Regions from separate parts of the Homo sapiens genome. Here region 1 is linked to region 2. Evidence: promoter capture Hi-C in 16 types of primary human blood cells and fetal thymus (Javierre and others, 2016). All regions are on one chromosome and are shown on one strand. Each heading gives the region's core, a stretch centred on a gene start or on the middle of the fragment in contact. The rest is flanking DNA. Distances are from core to core; before and after follow the strand shown.

Evidence for each region. The method cuts DNA at HindIII sites, captures the fragments that hold promoters and counts their contacts. A CHiCAGO score of 5 or more calls a contact.
Region 1: the fragment with the promoter of MARCO here is called in contact with the fragment with the promoter of C1QL2 in region 2 in 2 of 17 cell types (M1 macrophages and M0 macrophages); the score reaches 5.6 in M1 macrophages.

Annotation. Positions count from the first base shown.
Region 1 is chr2:118,939,036-118,944,857 of GRCh38, reverse strand. MARCO (macrophage receptor with collagenous structure) reads right to left here and starts at 2,664. Exons shown (of 17, transcript NM_006770.4): 1 at 2,461-2,664. The coding sequence starts at 2,557. The HindIII fragment of the contact is 9,171 bases long and covers 2,567-5,822 here.
Region 2 is chr2:119,156,436-119,162,594 of GRCh38, reverse strand. C1QL2 (complement C1q like 2) reads left to right here and starts at 3,844. Exons shown (of 2, transcript NM_182528.4): 1 at 3,844-5,009; 2 at 5,614-6,159. The coding sequence starts at 4,326. The coding sequence ends at 5,793. RefSeq lists an enhancer at 4,666-5,476. The HindIII fragment of the contact is 3,837 bases long and covers 1,565-5,401 here.

The DNA.
Region 1 (5,822 bases), core at 1,415-3,914, 220 kb after region 2:
GGAAAGAGGGATGCAAGTTGCACTGTGCTTCTAGAGGGTACAGTGTGAAATTTACACTCCTCATCCTTTTTTTAAGATTAATTTTAGAAAAAATGAAGGTTATATTCCAAAAGTTTCCCAAACTCACTTCTAAAATTTTCTTCAGCATGTGTTGAAAACTTTCCTAGTCCAGTATCCTTGGGTAATAATAATAAAAAAAAACTAGTTTAATACTTTATAATCAGGGAAAAACAGCATTTTATATTTCAATACCAACAATAGAGAAAAATAAATGAGGAAAATGACATTAGAAATATTTTTCAGTGCTGTTTTTCATGAACCATATGTGGGAATTTTAAGATAATGTATTTTCAAAAGAAAATAAAACTATATATGGCCTAAATAAATAAATCTTCAGCAGACAAAAAATAAGTAATGTGCAGAGCCGGCCCTGAGGGGTCACTGTGTTACCAGAGCCTCACAGTGATTACCTGCATAATGGCACTCTTCTAGAAAGTTTCATATGTTCCACAATCTTTGTATTAGAAGGCAGGATGTTGTGAATGCATATAAGAAAATGTTTCTTTCATCCAAATTGGAGTAGTTTTGGTTTTTTGGTGAGATACTTTAAACATTTTATTTATTTATTTATTGGTGGAGATAGGGTCTCACTATGTTGCCCAGGTTGGTCTCAAATTCCTGGGCTCAAGGAATCCTCCTGCACTGGCTTAGTTACATTTTTAATTGGTGACACACACAACCCAGGTCAGAAATCTAGGGTTCACTATTAACTCCTGCGTCTTCCTCCCCAGCCCTGTCCTGCCATTGCAGTCCAATTGATCTGATTTCCGGTGTTTCTCCAGAGCATTCCTTTATTTTCCTGCCTTCCATCCACTGCCCCTCATCATCTCTTGCTGCCAAGTTCCTCTCTGTCCTCAGCTTCTCTCTCCAGCCATCCCTATGTAGGACAAAGAGCAACCTCACATGCACATTAGTGCCTTTCAGCCCCACATCGGCCCCTTCCTGCTTCCCCACTGACCTCAGGATGAAGTCAAATTTTTTGGTTCCAGCCTCAGTCCCCACTGGTCTTTCCGTCCCAATTTTGGCCAAACAGTATGGAAGTATTTATATTTCTCTGAATATTTCTTGTGAATACAATACAAACATGTGGCGCCCACCCCGCCCCAGGCACTAACTTCTTTCTCTAACGGACTCCCTTTATCCTTTAAACTTTGGAAGAGGTGTCAGCTCTGCCCTCCAGGGCTCTACACCTGGTTAGATCTGTCCATCATGTCCTGTGGAAGTCTCAGTCACAACATGGAAATTGTCAGTTCATGGGCAGCTTACCCTGTCCCCTGTCCCCTCGTGCCAGAAGCCAGAGGCCAGAGGCTATGTTTATTCAAGCCTGTTTCCTCAGTGCTGAGTGCAGTGCCCTGCTGGAAATAGGTGCTGAGTATGCTTGATCAGCTGACTTTGCTTGAACATCTTCAGTCTCTTAAACAGTCATGTATCCAGAATGTTGCATTCTGAGAAGTTCTAAATAGCCAATGATTATTATAGCCATTAGCACTCACACCTTTCTCTGTTATTACACTGTAAATTCCTAGAGGCAGAGCCCCAGACGCTTCATCTTTGTGCGCTGAAAATTCCAGGCAGGGACCTGGGCAGACAGGTGTGGGATGAGAAGGACACTCTGGCCAGGAGATAAAGCCACCAATTTTCCTGCATAGACAACTTCCAGCAAAGCCTGGGAGTGGAAATGACTGATCAACTTGGAAGATGATCCCAAGAGAACGTTCTAGACTAGGAAATCAGAGCTCATTTGTGGAATGCAAGCCCACCCATGACTTCAAATGCTACAAATTCTAGAAGATTTTAAAAATGCATCACCTGTTGAATGCTGAGTGAGAAAATAAAGACAACAGAGTTGACTGAATATTACAGACCTGAGTTTAACCTAAGACAAACTAATTATGAAGCTATGAACATATTTCAGTCAACATGAAATACAGAATATGTTTCCTGACCAGCACATCAGTTATAACAGAAATCCCCTTAAAGAATTTTAAAGAAGCTGTGTTTTGAAAACTGTCATGCTTGGCTTCAGTTTTGTGGTCCCCTTTCAGTGCCCCTGTTTTGCGTTTTCATTGTATCACCCAACCTGTGTGTCAGAATAAGACATTCATTAAAAAAAGGGGACATTTAATAAGCATTGGCATTTTTTCAAGGGAAAATATTTAAATATGATTAAAACAATAGTGAAGCTAAGAAAAACCTGACTATATGCTAAAAATACAGCATCTATTATTAGCATTCCAGAAATTCCAAATTGAAGCACTCCAGACAGTATTAGTGATGATTACGTGCAAAATGCAGCAATAAGCCAAACCTAGACTTTCTATTGACTTGTCTATTTTCGTATCTCGCTAGCAGAAAGACTACATTTCTGGTCATTTCCATTATTGGGGAATCGTACTTTACCATTGATTTCGAAAGGCTCCATTGCAATTTGGTGAAAAGCAGCTTGTTGGGTCTCACTCAAGAGCTCGTCCTCCTTGAGAATTTTCTTATTTCTCATTGCCAAGCTTTATAGATGGCCAAAGTCCTGGAGCCAGCAGAAATGCTCCCCTCAAGAGGAACCACTTGGAGAAAGATCCTTCCCATCGAACCACTGCAGCTGGTTGTAAACCTCGCAGCACTTCCCTTTGGCTCTGATTTCAGAATTTGCAGGATGTTTCCTGACATGATCAGGATTGGACATTTCTCAAACACGGGCTATTCACATGTGGATCTCCCACACAGTGCTGCTGCTTGTTAAGGGGGATCGAGGAGGCTTTGGGACACAAGTTACGGGCCTCTGAATGCACCCGTCACTCCCAGGTCCCTGAGACCCAAAAGCTGGATGGCTCCAGAGAGGGCCAACCAAGCCCTGCCATGGGCCCAGACTCAGCTCTCTGTCCCAGGACCTCTCCAGCCCACAGTGAAATCTCCCTTCTCTGACCTGCCTCAACCTTTAGAGTTCATCCTTGCTGCTCAAAGTGTGGTCCATGGACCAGCAGTATTAGTATCACCTGAGAACTTGTTAGAAATGCAAGTTCACTTGTTCTAACAATGAGTCTCTGGTCCCACCCCATCAGATCAAATCCAAATCTACAGTTTAACTAGATCCCCAGGTGATTTATATACACATTACAGTTTGAGAAGCCTTGCTCTGAACCACACATTTTAGCACTTAGTATTTCTTCTTGTAGTTTTCCCATGTTCTCTCTCTGTGTGTGTACACATGTGTGCACATGTGTACATGTGTTACAGGTGTCCTTGTCCAGGCCCCAGTGAGATCTGAGCTCCTTAAGGAAAGTAGCTTCTCCCCTCTCTCCCTCCCGTCAGGCATCTCTACCAGGGATGCTGTATAGCATGGTGGTTAAGACACAGACACTAAGAGCTAGAATGCCTGGCTTCAAATTCCACCTCTTCCACATAGGGGCTGTCTGGCAGTAGGCAAATCACTTGAGCTTTGAGCATCTCACTCTTCTGTTTGTATAAATAAGGAAGATATGAATTTCGTGAGCCTTAAATGAATTAAATCATATAAGGTGGCTAGGATGGAAGTATTAGGTAATAAACACTATGGTCATGTTGTTGTTATTATCATTAGAGACATTGTGAGCCTGCTGGGCACCGAGGAGATGAAGAAATGGCCTTTTTTCATGAAAGATATTCACAGTCTACCATGCAAGATGGTTGCGGCTACAACTACATTCCAGAAAATTGCTGTGAAGTGCGGCAAAGGTTGATGTCCCTGAAAAGACAGAAGTGCCGGGAGGCAGGGGAGACAGGGCAGAAATATGACAAATAGCTTTATCATCTGAATCAAGAGATATCAGATACCAGAGCTGGGCTTAAAAGGATAATGGGGGATTGATCCAGATCAAGATGAGGCAAAGGCCCTCCAGGGAGGAAGGAGGGCAGGTGCAGCCTCTCAGAGGTGGGACAGCCTGGAGCAGGGGAGCCGTAGACTTTTGGCCTATTTGAAATGTAAGAGGTGAGGAAGACAGGTGGCAGGAAGTGAAGCTGTGCCAGGCGAAGTCACTTTCTTTGGCCCGTGGTATGTCAGAAAGTGAAAGGGGATGAAACTCAGGAAAGTGAGCTCCTAGCAGTGCCCTGAAAAGCAGAGGTCCCCCGTGGCGCCCACAATTTCAACATTCAGGAAGTCACTGGTTCCGCCAGAGGACAAGCAGCAGAAGCCAGGACAGAAAAATTTAAAGAGGAAAATTGGAAATGAGGAAGTGATGGCTCCAGCTAGAGTCTGGGGGGTAGACAGGACCAGATAATTGAGGACACAGGGGATTTGCCCACTGGAGGGCAGTCCCCTAGGCAAAGGAACCCGCTCACTTAGCCTGGCAGAGCTCCCTGCTCTCCCTCTGCCTCTGCCTGGTCAGCTCATCTTTGATTCTCATGGGTGTGGGGAGGGGACTTATTAGAAAATGTCATGGGCTAATTATTGAGGATCCCTGTTCTTAAAGGAAGCACTTAGTGGATGTCAAGTGTAGTCACTTCACCTCTGGCTAGAGACCAGAGAGACTTGGGTCCCAAATTCAACTCTTTCATTAACTTTCTGTGTGACCTTGGTTGACTTACTTCTCTGAACTTCCACACAGAGTAATGGCTTGTGCAAGCATTAATTCCTATCCAGGATTTACTGTTAATGCCAGACACTGTGCTAAACATTTGCATACATTGCTCAACACTCATAACTTGCAACTTGCCTTAAATTGTGTGGTTATAAAGAGCTACACCAGAATTTGAATCCAGACTCTCTGCCTCAATCTATAGACTGATTTAATTCTGGTTTAATCCAGGGGTTCCAATCCAGAGGTTTGCAGTAGAGGAATGCCAGTTTCCCATCCCAAACCTGAGGCTCTGGTTTTAATAAAAATTTCAGAAAGAGCTCTAATGTGCACCAGGCTTAGGACCACCGAGTGGTATAATTGAAGCACTCATGTGCAGTGTGGCCTCCTGACTCCATCCTAGGAGGATCCATTAGGTTGAATCATATGGAATGACAGATATTTATCTGTTTTTCATATGCAATAAATGGATACTTTATATGACTCAAGCTAATCCATTCACCTTGCAGGGCCTGAGACTCAGGGATTAGGATGAAGCAAATAATTCACTAGCCTTGAGTACAAAAGATTCAATAATCAAGATAAATAATATTTTAGTGCAATATATTTAAAAAATCAAAGTTAATGCAAAAATTCTGCGATGAACAAAATATCATCATTTTAAAGGAAGACAGAATCCCACTTTGCACGTACAATGACCCTCCTCATTTGCTTACCCTAGTCCTGGCCCTCTCATTAGCTCTGTGTTTCAGCATCCCCATTACAAAATGGGATGCCCAGAGTTGCCGTGTTTACCCATAGAGTGGATGTGTGGATCAAATAAAATAATAAATGAGTAAGTACATTTGTAAACAAAAGTTCTATATGCAGAATAGCATTTTATATCAAAAGAGCGTGTCATACGAAACTCCTGCACTGTCAATGAATCCCTTAAAAATCCTTTAAATCTTCTATAAATACAAAACACACAATTTAGGAAATATGGTACAGTCTCTTCTGAAGTCTTACTCAGACACTTTTATCTCCAGGAACACAGATCCAGCAGTTTCTTCCCAGGTGAAGTTGCATTTGGAGACAAGTTGTCCAAGAAATGCAGGGTCTGGCTTTATTTGTCTAGCAGCATGCATATAATTGGATTGGAGTATTTAAATGTGCATTTGGGGAGGGCTCAATGCCCAATGTAGTTACATCAAGTTCTGATATTCTCTGAAGTGA
Region 2 (6,159 bases), core at 2,595-5,094:
ACTGGAGCCCATAGCCAGGTGGGGGAGGCTAACTAATAAAGAAATGCATGATGGTAAGACATAGGATGGCAGGGTACATTCAACGTACTCTAAAGCGTACATGGGTAGGAACTATCAACTCAGCTTAGAGAAGGGTCACGGAAGACTTCAGACAAGGAAGTGACACTTAGCTGAGACTGAAAGGATAATTAGAGAGGAGTCCAGATGAGATGCAGGAGACAGGCCATGGTGCAGGTAGATGAAGCATGGGGCCCACTGCTGGTGGAGGCCACTAAAGAACCGGACATGACAGTGTGGAACCAAGCATCAAACTATGTGTCACAGAGCACAGGGCTCTATGAAAGGATAAGATAGAGAGCACTGGTTGGCACATAGTAGGTTGTCAGTGTATGTTGGCAGAAGGAATGCCTGCTGGATTACTAAAGGCAATTTAGAACAGATTTGAGTGGGTCTCGAAATGTAAAAACCACAGTCTAAATGGAAGGCAATATGTTAATATAGGTCATAATTAGTATTGAAGAGAAGATAGTCACCAATGATATGGATCGCTCAGGAGGAGCAGAAGCCAGGTGGATAAACAGGTATGTCAGCTGGGTGCAGTAGCTCACGCCTGTAATCTCAGCAATTTGGGAGGCTGAGGCAGGTGGATTGCTTGAGGCCAGGAGTTCGAGACCAGCCTGGCCAACATGCCAAAACCCCACCTCTACTAAAAATACAAAAATTAACCGGGCATGGTGGCGGGCACCTGTAATCCCAGCTACTTAGGAAGCTGAGGCAGGAGAATTGCTTGAACCTGGGAGGGAGAGGTTGCAGTAACCCAAGATTGTACCATTGCACTGCAGCCTGGGCGACAGAGTGAGACTCTGTCTCAAAAAAAAAAAAAAAAAAAAGAAAAAAAAATAGGTATGTTCAACACTCCAGCAGGCCATGCCTTCTGGCCCTGCCATGATGGGTGGGAGGAAGGAGAAGCAAGGGGAAAGACACCTCTTGACTTATTTGGCTGCTATGTGGAGGCTGCCTGGGCTCTGCCTGCCCTGGAGCCTGCTGCCCCTGCCTCCTGGTGGAGGGCTGGTCTTGAGAGGCGCTCCCAGGAATGCTGATCCCCAGGGAAGGTAGCTTTGCTTGTGGTCTGCCAAGGTGAAAGCCTGGGTCTCAAACATCTGACCCTCCTTGCTTCATCTTTGCCCAGATACTGCAAGGACAAAATCACTGGGACTTGGCAGTCTCCAGCAGTCTGAAAGGCTGGGGAATTCAAACGGAGTGAGTGTCTGCCTGGAAAATGTTTGTCCAGGTGGAACTGGTGACTGGGAACAAACACTCTGGGTAGTTTTGAAAGACAAAAAGACAGAGCAGGGCAGGCTTGGGGAATGTGGGAGGCATGGGACATCCCCCTTCTGCGCTCTGGAGAAGGACAAAGGATGTGAATTATCTTTGAGCTTCTCTTTTTTTAAAACCCTAACCCTCCCCATGCCACCCTGCATATTGCCTTCATGTCGCATCCTAGTGGTCATAACCATGGCAGGGGAGGTTGAAAGCATCAATAGCTAATAAAAATAGCTAAGCTTCTACTGAGCTAGCTATTGTTCTAAAGCCTTTACATTAATTGGCTCGTTCAGTCTTCTCAATAACTTAGAGGTAGGTTCTTTTTCCATTCCCATTCTACACATGGAGATCCGAGCTCAGAGAGATGAAGCAACTTGCTCAAGGTCACACAGACAGGAAGTCTCAGACCCAGGATTGGAAGTAGGCCATGTGGCTCCTGAAATCACGTGCTCTTGGGATGACTCTGAGGCAGAGAGTGGAGAAAGACTCCCAAGTCTGAGGAAACCAGTGAAGACTGTGGCCAAGAAGTAGCTGTTGAAGCTGTGTTCACTGACAGGTTCAGATAGCCCCTGATCTGGGTGCCGGGAGGATCCTGGCTCTGTCATGTGGGTAAAATGCACTTGGCAAACACCCTACACTTGCAAAACCTTTTTTTTTTCCTCATTGGTGCGGTGGGAAAATGATCACTAATCCACAGTAACATGAGGAATGAATGAAGGAGCACGTGCAAAGTGCCTGATGCATACGTAGTAGGTGCCAATAAATGTGCTCCTTCTCTCCTTGGTAAAGTTGGCTTCCGGCTAGGCTCAGTCATCCTTTCCACAAATATATGTGGAGAGAACAGGCTAGAGCAACGAGGTTGGGAGTGGGGAAATGACCCAGGGTGATCAGAGGACAAAAATAGATTTTAATTAACCCGTAAGAACCTAGTGCAGGACAAATGAGAGTTAGCTTCAAAGCAATAGCCTTAGGTGGGTGCACTGTTGTTCCAGAGATGCTGATGCTACACCAAACACTGACACCAGCCCTTAGATTCTCCCCCCAGGACAGGCCTGGTGTGATTCCCATGTTGGGGGTGCTAGGGCAGGAGGCGGCCTTTTAAGGAAACTGAGTCTCAGGGACAGGAACCACCTGGCAAAATCACACAGCTACTCAGGGCAAGAGCAGAAGCTGGGGCTTTGATTTCTCCGCTGGAAGTCTCTCCCACACCGGCGGGCCTCTCATCCTTCCTTAGCCTCACATGCTACATTGGAGATAGACTATTCTGCTCTCATCTGAGGCCATGGTTTATTCAAGACTGGCTCAGAATGGCTTTGGACTATTTGGACTATTTTCTAAAATAACTAAACCCATCTCAGGAGGAGGAAGCTGGGGATGTCCAAGGGAATGTGCCCATGCATCTGCCTGGCAGTGGCCGGGCTTGGAGTAGAAGCTGAGTGCACCATGATCACTGCCAAGTGCCGGCATCAAGCATTTGGTTTCTACACCAGCTTCACGCAGAGGACAAGGGCCAGCCATTTTCTGGTGGAAGAAAAGGTCTGAGGCGAATATTCCTTTTTTTTTTTTTTTTTTTTGAGATGGACTTTTGCTTTTGTTGCCCAGGCTGGAGTGCAATGGCACGATCCCGCCTCACCGCAACCTCTGCCTCTCTGGTTCAAGCGACTCTCCTGCCTCAGCCTTCCGCGTAGCTGGGATTACGGGCATGCACCACCATGCCCAGTTAATTTTGTGTTTTTAGTACAGACGGGGTTTCATCATGTTGGTCAGGCTGGTCTCAAACTCCCAACCTCAGGTGATCTGCCCGCTTCGGCCTCCCAAAGTGTTGGGATCACAGGCGTGAGCCACTGCGCCCGGCCGCAAATATTCTTGTATTGGGAGCCTTGGGCTTTTTAGAGTCACCTCAGAGGTTAGTGGGGTGCTCTACGGGAGCCTGTTTAAGAGTCTGGAGTCCTTAGTCTAGGTTTGCGAAAGATCTTCCAGAAGCGAGATCTATTCAATTCTGAAGAAATAACTCAGGAGGTCTTTCAGAAACTCCTTCCCGCTGGACCTCACGGGACTCTCCTGGACTCGGTGGGTTGAGGTTTGATCCTCTTTGCAGGCCAGGGGATGGATTAGGTGACCCCAGAGGAGCCCTGCTGACACCTGGATTCCAGCTGCTTTCGTGGCCATGTGGGGGTGGCTGTGCGTGCCCCGCCACTGCGTGCGTGGGTGTCTGTGTGTGTTATCGGTGGGGGGCGCGTGAGTGTGGCCGCGGGTGGGTGTGTCCGATGTGCCCCGGCTTGGGACCGCGCCCGCTGCGCCCACTTGTGGCTCCTGGGAGCCGCCAGGGGGAACCGCGCCTTCACCGCCTCTGCCGAGGACGCCGCCAGATAGGAGGCTGATGACATGAGGGCTCCGTCTCCCGAGTGATGGCAGCGCGCGCTGCTTCGCCGCCTCCGCCGCTCAGCCCCGGACTCCTTACGTCAGGGTAGCGGGGTCCCCCCTCCGCGCGGGAGCCAGCGAACAGCGAGAGAGCACAGCAGAGCGCGCCGCGGAGCCGGGGCGCCCTCACTGCGCTAGGAGCCCCACTAAACCCAGCGGAGCGGAGCCTGGCGGGAGGCAGCGCCGCGGAGCCAGCGCCGGACGCCGCAAGCAGACTCCCCGGCCAGCGCAAGCACTCCCTGGCCGGCGCCGGACCCTCGGGGCGCCGGATTCGTCTTGTGTGCCCCACGTCATGCGCGCGGGCGTCCGCGGCTCTCCCGACCAGCCCCAGCGCGGTGGGCCCAGGCTCAGAGGTCCCGGCGCCTCTCGCTGAAGTAGTTGGGTAGCCGGGGCTGGGGGTCGCCACGTCGGGGGCGCGGCCAGGACCCGCGGAGCCGGTCCCCGAGCGCGGGGAGCGGGGCCGCCCGCGCCGCCCCACCATTACCTCCCCGGGCGGCAAGGAGGAGCTGGTGGCGGTCGCCTCCCGGCTGTGGCAGCGGCGGCGGCGTGCCTGCCTGGCGGCCGTCGGCGTACTCTTGGCCATGGCGCTCGGGCTGCTCATCGCCGTGCCGCTGCTGCTGCAGGCGGCGCCCCGAGGCGCCGCGCACTATGAGATGATGGGCACCTGCCGCATGATCTGCGACCCTTACACTGCCGCGCCCGGCGGGGAGCCCCCGGGTGCAAAGGCGCAGCCACCCGGACCCAGCACCGCCGCCCTGGAAGTCATGCAGGACCTCAGCGCCAACCCTCCTCCTCCTTTCATCCAGGGACCCAAGGGCGACCCGGGGCGACCGGGCAAGCCAGGGCCGCGGGGGCCCCCTGGAGAGCCGGGCCCGCCTGGACCCAGGGGCCCTCCGGGAGAGAAGGGCGACTCGGGGCGGCCCGGGCTGCCAGGGCTGCAACTGACGGCGGGCACGGCCAGCGGCGTCGGGGTGGTGGGCGGCGGGGCCGGGGTAGGTGGCGATTCCGAGGGTGAAGTGACCAGTGCGCTGAGCGCCACCTTCAGCGGCCCCAAGATCGCCTTCTATGTGGGTCTCAAGAGCCCCCACGAAGGCTATGAGGTGCTGAAGTTCGATGACGTGGTCACCAACCTCGGCAATCACTATGACCCCACCACGGGCAAGTTCAGCTGCCAGGTACGCGGCATCTACTTCTTCACCTACCACATCCTCATGCGCGGCGGCGACGGCACCAGCATGTGGGCGGACCTCTGCAAGAACGGGCAGGTCAGTGACCCCTACACTCACCGGCCCCCGTAAACCCTCGCCCGCGCCCTGAACCTCCCAGGGAACCAGCCTCCTTTCTCTCCACCCGCGGGCTACCCTGCGAGCCCCGGGAATGAACGCGCCTCGGTGCCACAGTATCTCCGCTTCCCGATGCGCCGAGGCCGCGCTCACCGGGACGTAGAGCCAAATGTTGGGCCTTGAGAGCCCAGAGACCCCCATACCTAAACTACACTCCTTGGCCACTTGCGTCCCTGCCTGCCTCTCCGTGGGCTTCTCGGAAACCTCAGTTCTTTAGTTCTCTCCAGGTCGCCCCCTTGCCCTGCAGCCTCCTTTCCTCTTGGCCCTGGCCCCTGGCTCCCACCCTTCCACTCTGGGTCAGTGTTCATGAAGCTTCCCCTCTCCCTATTTCCCAGACTCGTCGGCGCGAGGAGGAGGGGGGACCTGGAAGGAGTTGACTAAGTTGGAGAGAGAACATGGAGCTGGGGTGGGAGTGTGGACCCTGAAGCAGCAGGCGGGAGGCCCGTGAGTGGCGCGCCTGGTGTGGGCTGAGCAAAGGCGCGGGAAGAGGTGCCCCGGCTCACCTGCTCCCACCGCTTGTCCCCAGGTCCGGGCCAGCGCCATTGCACAGGACGCCGACCAGAACTACGACTACGCCAGTAACAGCGTGGTGCTGCACTTGGATTCAGGGGACGAAGTGTATGTGAAGCTGGATGGCGGGAAGGCTCACGGAGGCAATAATAACAAGTACAGCACGTTCTCGGGCTTTCTTCTGTACCCGGATTAGGGGCGCGGGGGGTGCGAGGCGGGGTGGCTGCAGGCCGCCCGGTCTCCGCCCGGGCGCGGCTCCTTGGCAAAGGCCACTCTCGATTCATAACACTTCCTGACATCTCCTTTGGAAAAGACAAATCCCTGCGTCCTCCCTGCCCCGCTCCTGGCCTCAGTGCGTCTGCGACCCACCACGCTCAGGGCTGTGCTCCTGGTCTCCATCCCCATCCCGGCAAGGGAGGAAGGGACGCCCGAGCCCTTGAGGCGGCGGCACAGACTTTGCAAACCTGATTAGACTGGACAGGCAGGGCCGGGAGCCTGCCCTCCTCAGACAGCCTCCTCCCAGTGCCTAGAAGCGGAGGGCTCCGGGCCCTGGCCAGGGAGG